2 separate regions of the Homo sapiens genome follow, and region 2 is linked to region 1. The links are contacts of gene promoters, found by promoter capture Hi-C in blood cells and fetal thymus (Javierre and others, 2016). All regions are on one chromosome and are shown on one strand. Each heading gives the region's core, a stretch centred on a gene start or on the middle of the fragment in contact. The rest is flanking DNA. Distances are from core to core; before and after follow the strand shown. Region 1 holds the start of FBXO47 (F-box protein 47). Region 2 overlaps LASP1 (LIM and SH3 protein 1).

Region 1 (5,668 bases), core at 2,362-4,861:
GCTACCACTAGGCCAGGCAGAAAATAGGCGTGGCTTGAACGTAACAAATGGATGAATGAATAGGTGAACAACAGATCATAGAGGACGCTGATGAAACAGCAGAGAGATTTGAGTTTCAGGTGGTTGGCAAGGCAAAGTTACTATGGGTTATTGAAATAGGAAATGACAAGGTGGACCTGCAGTGCTTGTACCTAAATTGGATTGCCAAATCCAGCAGACACCTGCAATGCTCATGTAACAGACACCTTGCTCAACTGGGTGGCACTTGTCACAGAGGGCTACTCCTCATTCTTGAAGCACCGATGCTTCAGGATTCTGTGACCCCAGACTCTCCTGGTTTTCTCCAGTTTACTTTGCTAGATACTCCTTTTCAATCTCCTTTGAGATCTTGCCCTCCTTTTCCCAATGTCTGAGTGTCAATATTCCTCTAATGCTTACAATTATATTCCTCTAATCCTTAAATGTATATCTCCAGCCCAGACATTTTCCTCCAAAAGCACTCTGATTTTTAAATTCAACTGCCTCCTTAACATGACATCTTCACTTGGATGCCTCAGAGAAATCTCAAATTTACCACTTGGAAAATTAATTATCCACTAGAATTCTCTTAATTCTCCACTAGTTGGCCAGGCGAGGTAGCTCACGCCTGTAATCTCAGCACTTCACTGAGGTGAGAGGATTGCTAGAGGCCAGGAGTTTGAGGTTATAGTAACCTGTGATTGCACCATTGTACTCCACCCTGGGCAACAGAGTGAGACCTTGTTCCGAAAAGAAAAACATAAGGCTGGGCACAGTGGCTCATGCCTGTCATCCTAGCACTTTGGGAGGCAGAGGTGGGCAGATCACCTGAGGTTGGGAGTTCGAGACCAGCCTGACCAACATGGAGAAACCCCGTCTCTACTAAAAATACAAAATTAGCCAGGCATGGTGGCACATGCCTGTAATCCCACCTACTGGAGAGGCTGAGGCAGGAGAATCGCTTGAACCTGGGAGGCAGAAGTTGCAGTGAGCCGAGATCGCACCATTGCACTCCAGCCTGGGCAACAAGAGTGAAACTCCGTCAAAAAAAAAAAAAAAAAAAGAAGAAAGAAAGAAAAGAAAAGACAAAACTCCACTAGAAAAACTCCTCACTTGCATATCTCAGTAAATGGGATTAACTTCTACCCATTTATTGAAGTCAGAAACCTGGGAATTATTCCTGTCTCCTTCCTTTCCCTTCCTTCCACCCATATCCAATCCATTAGGTAAATTCAGTTACTTCTACCACCAAAATATATCTCAAACCCATCCCTCAGAGCCACCATTCTAGTCCTGCAACATCCTAACAGATCTTACCCTCCACTCTTAGCCTCATTTATTCTCCACATAAAAGCCAGAGCAATCTTTTAATGATGTAAATCAGATCATAGCACTCTCTGCTTAAAACTCTTCAAGGACTTCCCATGACACTTCCCATGACACTTTGAGTAAAAGCTAAATTCTCACCACTAAGGATCCTTGTTTCCATTATGTGCGTCTGGCCCACTGCCAACGGGATGATACTTGGTCAAGGACCTCTAATCAATGTTGGAGACAGGGGGAAAAAAAAGAATTGTCTGCAGCTGGGCACGGTAGCGCAAGCCTGTAATCCCAGCACTTTGGCAGGCTGAGGTGGGTGGATCACCTGAGGTCAGGAGTTCAAGACCAGCCTGGCCAACATGGTGAAACCCCATCTCTACTAAAAAATACAAAAAAATTAGCTGGGCATGGTGGTGGGTGCCTGTAATCCCAGCTACCTGGGAGGCTGAGGCAGGAGAATCACTTGAATCTGGGAGGTGGAGGTTGCAGTGAGCCAAGATCACACCACTGCACTCCAGCCCGGGAAACAGAGGCAGACTTCATCTCAAAAAAAAAAAAAAAAAAAAAAGAATTGGCTGCAAAAGGATACAAAGCCAGGGCTGGGCCCGGTGGCTCACACCTTTAATCCCAACACTTTGGGAGGCAGGCAGATCGCTTGAGCCTCGGAGTTTAAGACCAGCCTGGGCAACATAGCGAAACCCCATCTCTGCTAAAAATACAATGGTGGTGCCCACCTGTGGTCCCAGCTACTGGGTGGCTGAAGCAAGATAATCAATTCAACCCAGGAGGCAGAGGCTGCAGTGAGCCGAGATCGTGCCACTGAACTCCAGCCTGGGCGACTGAGCAAGACTCTGTCTCAAAAAAAAAAAAAAAAAAAAAAAAGGCCAGGAGTGGTGGCTCACACCTGTAATCCCAGCACTTTGCAGTGCTGAGGTACGCAGGTCACCTGAGGTCAGGAAAAAAAAAGATACAAAGCCAAATGGATGAATATATGTGACTATATAAAATAACAGCATGCCAACTAATCCTAAATTTCCACTCAGTCTTTATGTAGTTCCTTATATATTTTGTGTTGGGTATAATGTAGAATTGATCTACAAAAGTAGAATCTTTCCCCCATTCCCTCTTCCCTCAGCCCTTCTCCTGACTGGCTCCTTCTCCTCCATCAGTTCTCAAATCGTCATATCAAAGGGACCTTGAGTATCAGTCTATCTAAAGTAGCTCTCCGCCAACACACACACACCCCATCATTCTGTCTTATTTCCTCTGTCACGCTGCTCTCACCGGAACTGCTCTCAACATCTGTAGATGCTCTGTCTGTTCATTCTATCTTCCCCATTAGGCTAATAAACTCCATTAAAGCAGGAAACGTATCTGTCTTGTTCTCTATTCCATCCTTAGGGCCTACTCCTGTGCCCGGCCCAGAGCAGGCTTCAATAAATAGTTACAGAATGAATGAAGAAATGAATGAATGAGAATTTAATCTTCTAGCCAGGAAGGCCTAGCTAGAAAGATTTGTCTTGATTTCATCTTGAGAGGATGGAGACACACATCTTCCTTTGATTCCAGACAGATTTATTATTTATGTGTTTATTTAGAGACCGGGAGCGGGGTTATGGCTGGGGGTGGGGGTCTCCCTATGTTGCCCAGGCTGGTCTCAAACTCCTGGACTCAAGGGAGCCTCCCGCCTCGGCCTCCCAAAGTGTTGGGATTACAGGCGTGAGCCACCGCACCGGCAAGACAAATTTAAAAAGGAATGTCTGGAGGTTTTTTTCCACCAAAAGGTTTGATGAAACCCCTTGTAACTTGCCCTACTGGAGTCAGTGGGGGTGGGAGGAACTCAAAAATTGTCTCAAAACTAGGTGAAGGGAAAGGCAGTGGAGCAGAGACGTGGCTCGCCACGTTCAGGATCTTGGGCTACACCCTCCCCTTCCCCACACCGTAACGGCTCCAGCCCCTTCTTGTCTTCAGCTTGGAGCGAAGGGTGGCTGAGGCCTGAGTTTGGGCTCCAGGAACCTCGCCCTTGTTAGTTATTCATGAGACGGAGGGCACCATGGGAGCTGGCTCTCTTGCTATTCATAAAGCGGGGAGGCGGGAGGCGGGGGGGAACCTCCTTCCCGCTAGGGCTTCTGGGAAGATCTACAATATTCATGAGGGAGGCGGGCACTACGAGAGCTGAGGCTGCTTGCTATTCATGAGGGGGCGGGCCTCCTTCCCGCGGGGGCTCTTGGGAAGATTCTACAATATTCTAGAGGCCGCGGGGACGCCTGGTGGGTAGGGCTGCAGCTCCGGAGCCTACGGGAGTGTGACCCTCTCGCCTCCTGGCGGGAAGCTCTTGAGGAGATATTTTCTTTTCTAAACACTAAGAAATTTGAGGATGGTGGGGCAAAACGACTAACTCCCACTTTCCTGTGACTCTGTAGCCGGAAAAACTGTCAAAATCTGTGGTAAAAGAGGGTTTTTTTTCCCAGTATTTTATTGCGATAATTTCATCTTTCATGGACTGAAGGGAGCGAAACATGTACCCCGTGTGGTCTGATTCTCCTGTTGACCAGTTTGTCCTTTAGGCTTCCCTAGTTTGCGGCTTTGGAGATGTTTGGGGGCAGCTGCCCGACAGATGGGGTGGGGCCCTTACAAGAGTTTTATGTTAAAACAGACATCCCTGTGAATGTAGTTTTTATCTTAAAGGTGTGGGGGGCGGGGAGGTTCATCCAATTGAACCCTCAAAACCTTTCACGCGCGGTCAAAATTAGTGGGATAGAACAGGGGGCATGAAACATCATTTTATTATTATTATTTGGGGCTGTGATTCTTATTCGCTAGAGGGGTGAGCGGAAACCAGAAATAATTTAGGATTATACCTTTAGAATTTTCACAAAAGCTTGCTTTTTCCCTACGAAACGTCCAGCTCTGAGTGAGGAAAATAAGGAACTATAAGTGGAGACTTGAGTTTTAGAAGAATTTGGGCTTATCATTTTTAAATTTTTGTTTATATTTATTTTAAACATGTATGTAGTTCACAGTTGACACAGTGAAGTCCCCGCCTGGTGACTGACAGTCTTTGAAGAGCCCACGGGCCCAAGCCCCACTGTCCACATTTCTCAGAGAAACAGGAAGAAGCCAAGGCCGGATTTATGCTATTGTAATAAAAATGCTTTAAAACACCTACTGTGTTGGCCGGGTGCGGTGGCTCACGCCTGTAAATCCCAGCACTTTGGGAGGCCGGGGCAGGCGGATCACGAGGTCAGGAAATCGAGACCAGGCTGGCTAACACGGTGAAACCCCGTCTCTACTAAAAATACAGAAATTAGCTGGGCGTGGGGGCGGGCACCTGTAATCCCAGCTACTAGGGAGGCTGAGGCAGGAGAATCGCTTGAACCCGGGAGGCGGAGCTTGCAGTGAGCCGAGATCGCGCCACTGCACTCCAGCCCAGGAGACTGTGCGAAACTCCATCGCAAACAAACAAACAAAACGCCTACTGTGAAAAGTTAAGGTTACAAACAGCCTTATGGATTAAACAAATTAAGATTATTTTACTTGGTGGAATGACACATAGCCATTAAAATATGATTACTTGTAGAAGGTTATTAGCATGGAAAGAGAATTCATTGAAAAAAGCAGATTACAAAGTATTATATATAGTGATCCCTCTTTTTTGTTAAAAAGAAATATATGTATGTAAAAGTCTGAAATTATATAAACCAAAGTGTTTATAAGTGAACTTAATTTTTTTCTTCTTGTTTAGCTGTATTGTGTAAAGTTGTTATTTGTGTAATTATTTTTTTTTTTTTTTGAGGCAGATTCTTGCTCTGTCACCCAGGCTGGAGTGCAGTGGTGTGATCTCGGCTCACTGCAACCTCCGCCTCCCGGGTTCAAGCGATTCTCCTGCCTCAGCCTCCAGAGTAGCTGGGACTACAGTCGCGTGCCACCATGCCCGGCTAATTTTTTTTTTTTTTTTTTTTTTTTAGTAGAGAAGGGGTTTCACCGTGTTAGCCAGGATGGTCTCGATCTCCTGACCTCGTGATCCACCGGCCTCAGCCTCCCAAAGTGCTGGGATTAAGGCGTGAGTCACCATGCCCGGCCTATTTGTGTAATTTTAATGATAATTTTAAAATACCTCCTAATTTAAGTGTTCACTGAATACTGACCCCAATCGCTGTGGTATGGTTTCAAAGGAGGTTCAGAGTGTACTTTTCACTAAACACTAAATTTCTTTGTTATGTTTTCAAATGTGTAACCAATTTTAAATTGATGTAAGTTGATATGTAACATTTCAAGATGTATAAGTAACAATGTTACTTTAGCAATTTGTAGAAAGGAGAAAATGCAT
Region 2 (5,668 bases), core at 2,067-4,566, 94 kb after region 1:
TCCTGGCTAACATGGTGAAACCCCATCTCTACTAAAAAGACAAAAAAATTAGCCAGGCGTGGTGGCGGGTGCCTGTAGTCCCAGCTACTTGGGAGGCTGAGGCAGGAGAATGGCGTGAACCCAGGCCACTGCACTCCAGTCTGGGTGACAGAGCAAGACTCCGTCTCAAAAAAAAAAAAGAGAATGTGGGACACAGGGCCCATCCAGGGTGGCCGACGGAGGGAAGAGAGTGATGACAGAAAGAGAACAGATCTAGCCGGGAGCGGTGGCTCACGCCTATAATCCGAGCACTTCGGGAGGCTGTGGCAGGCGGATTACTGGAGGTTGGGAGTTCAAGACCAGCCTGGCCAACATGGTGAAACCCCGTATCTACTAAAAATACAAAAAAATTAGCCGGGTGCAGTGACGGCGTGCCTGTAATCCCAGCTACTCGGGAGGCTGAGGCAGGAGAATCGCTTGAACCCAGGAGGCAGAGATTGCGGTGAGCTGAGATCATGCCACTGCACTCCAGCCTGGGGTATAGAGCGAGACTTAATCTCAAAAATAAATAAATAAATAAATAAATAAATAAATAGGCCGGGTATGGTGGCGCATGCCTGTAATTCCAGCTACTTGGGAGGCTGAGGCAAAAGAATCACTTAAACCCAGGAGGTGGAGGTTGCAGTGAGCCAAGATTGTGCCACTGCACTCCAGCCTGGGTGACAGAGCAAGACTCTGTCTCAAAAAAAAAAAAAAAAAAAAGAGAAACGATCTAACAGGCTCCACGTGGCAGCCTGGAGGGGTCTTTGTGGAACCCCTGAGAAGTATTGATGCTTAGGCAAACCCATGACAACAGGATCTAAATTCACCCCCAGAAGCCCAGGATGATGTGCTGGATCACCACCAAACAGGGGTCCACTGCCAGGACCCCAGAATAATCCAGGCCACCTGAGTGACCTGGCTGGCCTGTCCCTGCCCCATTTCCCAGTAGTCAAGGGAGACATTCCCCATTCCAAAAGAAGGAGGCCAGGAGGCAGGCCCAGGGGGACTTTTGAAGGAGCCCAGCCACAGAGCTGGTTCTTGGCCATTTGTCAAGGAATTCCCCCAAGGCGATGCTTTTCAAAATGTTGTCTCCAAACCCCCGGAGGGAGAGGTGCTTCTGAGACACTGGGAGGAGGGGATAGCAGAAAGAAGGCTGAGAATCTGGGATTCAACCTCCCTACCATGGCCCACTTCAACCAGAGACCCCCAGGGTAATTTCAGGGGGAAATCACCTTCTAATAGGGTACTGGTTCCCTATCAAGAAGACCCAAAGGAAAAACCTAATGGTGGAATATTAAACAGAATGCTAGGAGAACCACTCTTGGGGAGGACGGCCAGCCGGAAGTCTGGAAGCAAAGAAGTGGCGGGTCTAAGCTTGGCCCCCTCCCCAACCTGGGCCTATCCCAGTGACCCAGGGCCCCCAAACTCCTATGAGGCAACTTAAAGACTCCTTCTGGTGCATAACCCAATAGACAGAACCCACCGGGACACTAAGACAGACTGGTCCCTGCCCCCACAGGCCCCTGAAGTGGTGCATACCCCAACACACAGAACCCACCAGGGACACTAAGACAGGCTGGTCCCTGCCCCCACAGGCCCCTGAAGTGACAGCCCCACTCCCTCCCCGAGTAACTGGGAGGCATTGGCAGGGTGCCCCAGCCTGGTCACCACCCAGTCTGCTGGCCTCTGCCTACTTAGCTGCACAGGCCCCTGCCTAGGCCCCTGCCTGGGCCCCTGCCTCCCCCTACCCCCACAGGGGCCTGCCAGGAAAAACATTCTCCAGAATCCAGACCATGACCCACTTTCTCACACACACACACACACACACACACACACACACGAAGGGCTACACACTGTCCTAGGACCACGGACCTCCAAGGCTGCCTCCTGATTGACGTTGGGGAGACAAAGGGAGAGAGACCCCTACTCCAGATGGCCAGGCCTGCACCCGGAGCCAAGCCCCTTGGAGAAGGAGGGTGGGGTGTACTGAGCAGGCAGGGGGCACAGGGCCAACACTGGACCCAGTGGTTCCAAAGACCCCTCCAGGCTGCCACGCGGAGGAAGCAGAGCCCCTCTTCTAGGGGATGGCACCTATTTCTATCAGTAGCTCCTTCCCACCTCCCTCACAGGCCCCACACTCTCATCCAGACACCCAAGGGTGGGGCAGAGGAGGGTGGTCGCCTGTCCCCCTGCAGGGGGCTCTGAGCAGAAACATGGAAACCAGTTACTATGAAGCACAAGTGTCAAGTGGAGCTGCAGCCACTGTCTCCCAGAGTGCTGGAAGGTCAGGAGAGGAGGCCGTTCCACCCCTAATGCTTGGCACCTCCAGCAGCTTCAGGCGACTCCCCTACCCTCTCTGGAGGAAGGCCCCAAGGTTCAAGAAAACCCACCAGCTCCTTCCACTGTGTCCTTTTTGGGGTAGGAAAATTGTGGGGAGGGGAGGCAGAAAATGGCCAGTCCCTCCACAACCGCTGTGAGCCAAGCCTGGACCCTAAGATGAAAGAACTCCTGCCTTGTCTCAATGGGGTCTGGGGAAGGACACTGTCAGGGAAATATGTCCAGAGGACCCCACAGTGACCCCGTCTGCCTCTGCCCTGCCCCATGGGCTCTGTCCCAGAGCAAGAGCCCCCCTCTTTTAAAGGCCCCAGGCAAGATGATTTCAGCGAAGCATTCCTGGGCCTCAGGACTCAAGGAAACTGCACCTCGAGGCATGCACCTCTGCCCCTTCCTGCTGCCTGCAAAGTCCATGGCTTCCCTGTTCACAGAAACCAGACAGACCCTACCTCTGCTGCCTGTTAGAGGCCTCTCAGCCTGGATCCGAGGCTCCAAGGCAGGGTCATCTTGATCTTCCCTTGCCTACCTGCAACCCACTCTAAAGAAAGGTAAACAGGCTGGTAGGGGCAGAAGCCTGCAAGGATACCCCTCACTTGGGACAGCCTGTCCCTCTGTGGCTCTGGGTTGGGGGGGATGTGGCAAGCTTCGTGTCACTGTGCCTGCAGCCTGGCACCTTGGCCTCTGAACCCAGGCTACCTGGGGTGGCCATGACTCAGGGATGGATTATGAGACCATCTCTTCCCTTCCTGTTGCCCAGGGTTACAGTTTCTCCCTCCTGCAGAGGCAATGCCAGCCCCACCCTGGCCGGGGCACCAGCCTAGCTTGGTTGGCCACCTGACCCGCTGGCTTAAAGGCATAGATCTTTGCTGCACCTCCACAAATTCCGAGGAGGACAGGATTATTCCCAGTGGCCCCACGCCCCCATACAAGACCCCAGGCCCAGAGCATTCCTCCAGATAGGGTCAGGAAGGGATGGGACCTACTTTTGGCACAAATGAGATGTAAATAAAATATAAATATGTATAAATAAAAGTACTTTCTGCAAACACACTGGCAGAAGAGCTGAGCAGAAAGAACTGTGGATGTGAATTTCAGCTCTAAGAGAGGGAGATGAGCCACATGGGCTACCTGAGCCTCCATTTATGGAGTGCATCGTTTACAAGAGCGAATACACCTACTTTGTGAGGCTGCTGTGAAGACTGAGCCCAGCATATCGTGATAACTAGTAGCTATTATGAAGGGATGGTCACAAGATGATGGTGGGGTACTCTAAGCTTCAGCTAGCAAAACGGGGCACCACAGCTGTGAGGACTTCAACCCCCTCGAGTGGGGAGGGAGCGCTGAGACAAGCAGAGGCAGAGAGCCCACCCTAACAGGGGATTCCAGGGGAACTGGCAGCAGACCAATCCTCTACCTCCACCTGTTTTCAGAAACCTGGGGAAGCAAGCCAGGAAAGAGGGACGTGGCGAGGTTCTTGACAACACAGCTCCCTAGATACAAAGCAGGTGCACAAAGTAGGTGCTCAATAAATATTTGTTGAATGAGCAAATGAGGTCACCCTGTTTCTCCCCCAGCTCTAATCCCAGAAGTCCTCTGGAGAAGCAAATCTCGACCTCCTTCCTCAAACACTGTCATCAGCAATACATATTTATCCAGCTTGCAAAGCATGCTGGGTACTGCAGGTTGGGGGCAGGGTGGCCTTCAGAGGTGACAAGGTTTTTACCCACCTATGCCTTTGGGAGATAAGGCTCAGGGAGGAGAAAAGGCTGAAACCAAGGACACACCCTGTGCTTTGGGCCACGTAGTGGGCTGAGTACCATGGGGGATTGTAGAGAAACGGGTGAGTCTAATTTGACTCTTTTGCTGTAAATGGGAGGCCTTGGGAAGTTGGTTAGCAACTATGGGACTGAAGCTGCCTATGGGACTGAAGGTTTCCCCTCCTCCCTGGTCACAGCCCAGCATCCTCCAGGCACTGGCTCCCCATTCCTGGTCCTATCCTTACTGCCTGGAGCAGGTGGAGAGGAATAGGTCTGATACCTGGATATTTCAGGTCTCCTGCTCAGTACAGGGGGCGAGGTCTCTCCAGGGCCACTTCCTATAGGGAGAGTTCTAAAAAGAGGAAGGAATCACCAACTCCCACTTCCCTGGGCAACCCCCACTTGAACGTCCTCTTCCAGCTAGGGTAAGAGAACTGGGGAGGGCACCCTGCCCATCCCTGCTCCCCTCCCCTCGGGTACACGGCACTGAAGGTCTTTCCAAGGGGAGTGGTGTGGAGCTGAACAGAGCATCCCAGAGAGGTAGGGAGGGCATAGTCTATACAGCACCCTCTTTAGCACTCAGGGACTTTAGTGCACTGCCCCACCTTTAAGGAAATGACATCATCATACCCATCTGACAGATGGTGAATACTGAGGCCTAGAGACATTCATAAAACTGGTGGGAGCAGACCTGGAACAAGGACCCAGTTTCCCAACTCCTGGAGTGGCAATCCTGCCTTCATGTTTTGCTTTTTCCTTATACGGGTCAAGTGCCCACTGCCTCTTCCCAATTCATGACTGTGGAGAAGAAGGGGACCACAGGGAACTCAAGATGCAGAGGCCAAAATCTCTGCCACGAGGGGCGGGCGAAACCCCAGTGTGCAAGGACAGGTACATTCTCAAGGGGAGACTTCATTATCTGATAGCTCTAAGCTCAAGTCCTGCCCAACAGCGGCTGGCATGGTCATGGGGAGATCAACAACTTTCCTCGTGCCCACAATATACCCCCTCCTCTCCTCCTGCCCAGTCAAGCCCAGGACCAGGAGGAACAGTGACACAGCAGCGGCCCCATATGCCCACACTCCCCAAGAGCAAGTTCAAATATCTTTCAGAACCTCCAACCCCACCTCCTCACGCTGACTCAGAGGCCAAAGGTCACTGAGGAAGCTCACACACCAAGGGGGAGGGGAGAGATAAGGTGTCCAATAAACTATCCTCTCCTGAACAAAACCTGGCTCCAGGTCAGTAATGAACTTGGCCCCAGGGCTCTATACCCCTCTTTCATCTAGTGTTCCCACCCTTGCACCTCTCTTCCATCCAGTCCTCCCAGCCCTCCCAGTTCAGATGGAAAGGACAGAATACTTGGACTTGGAGCCAGCTTTGGGTGGTGGATGAAAGACGCGGTGAGGAAGGGCACAAAATCACAGAGGCCTCCCCTCCAGACTGGGGAGGGGATGCAGAGGGGCAGGTTTTACCTTAGGATCTTACGGAGCTTACAAGAGAACAGGATCCTACCCTAAACTGTACGGGAAACACCCAGTTCTACTCTCCAACCC

Evidence for each region. The method cuts DNA at HindIII sites, captures the fragments that hold promoters and counts their contacts. A CHiCAGO score of 5 or more calls a contact.
Region 2: a fragment that was not itself captured here is called in contact with the fragment with the promoter of FBXO47 in region 1 in 3 of 17 cell types (total CD8 T cells, naive CD8 T cells and naive CD4 T cells); the score reaches 6.5 in total CD8 T cells.

Annotation. Positions count from the first base shown.
Region 1 is chr17:38,965,346-38,971,013 of GRCh38, reverse strand. FBXO47 (F-box protein 47) reads left to right here and starts at 3,611. Exons shown (of 11, transcript NM_001008777.3): 1 at 3,611-3,785. The HindIII fragment of the contact is 5,025 bases long and covers 1-4,221 here.
Region 2 is chr17:38,871,250-38,876,917 of GRCh38, reverse strand. All of the region lies in intron 1 of LASP1 (LIM and SH3 protein 1), which reads right to left. Among named protein-coding and RNA genes, the nearest start is that of LASP1, 4.0 kb to the right of the region's middle. RefSeq lists an enhancer at 4,997-5,598. The HindIII fragment of the contact is 631 bases long and covers 3,001-3,631 here.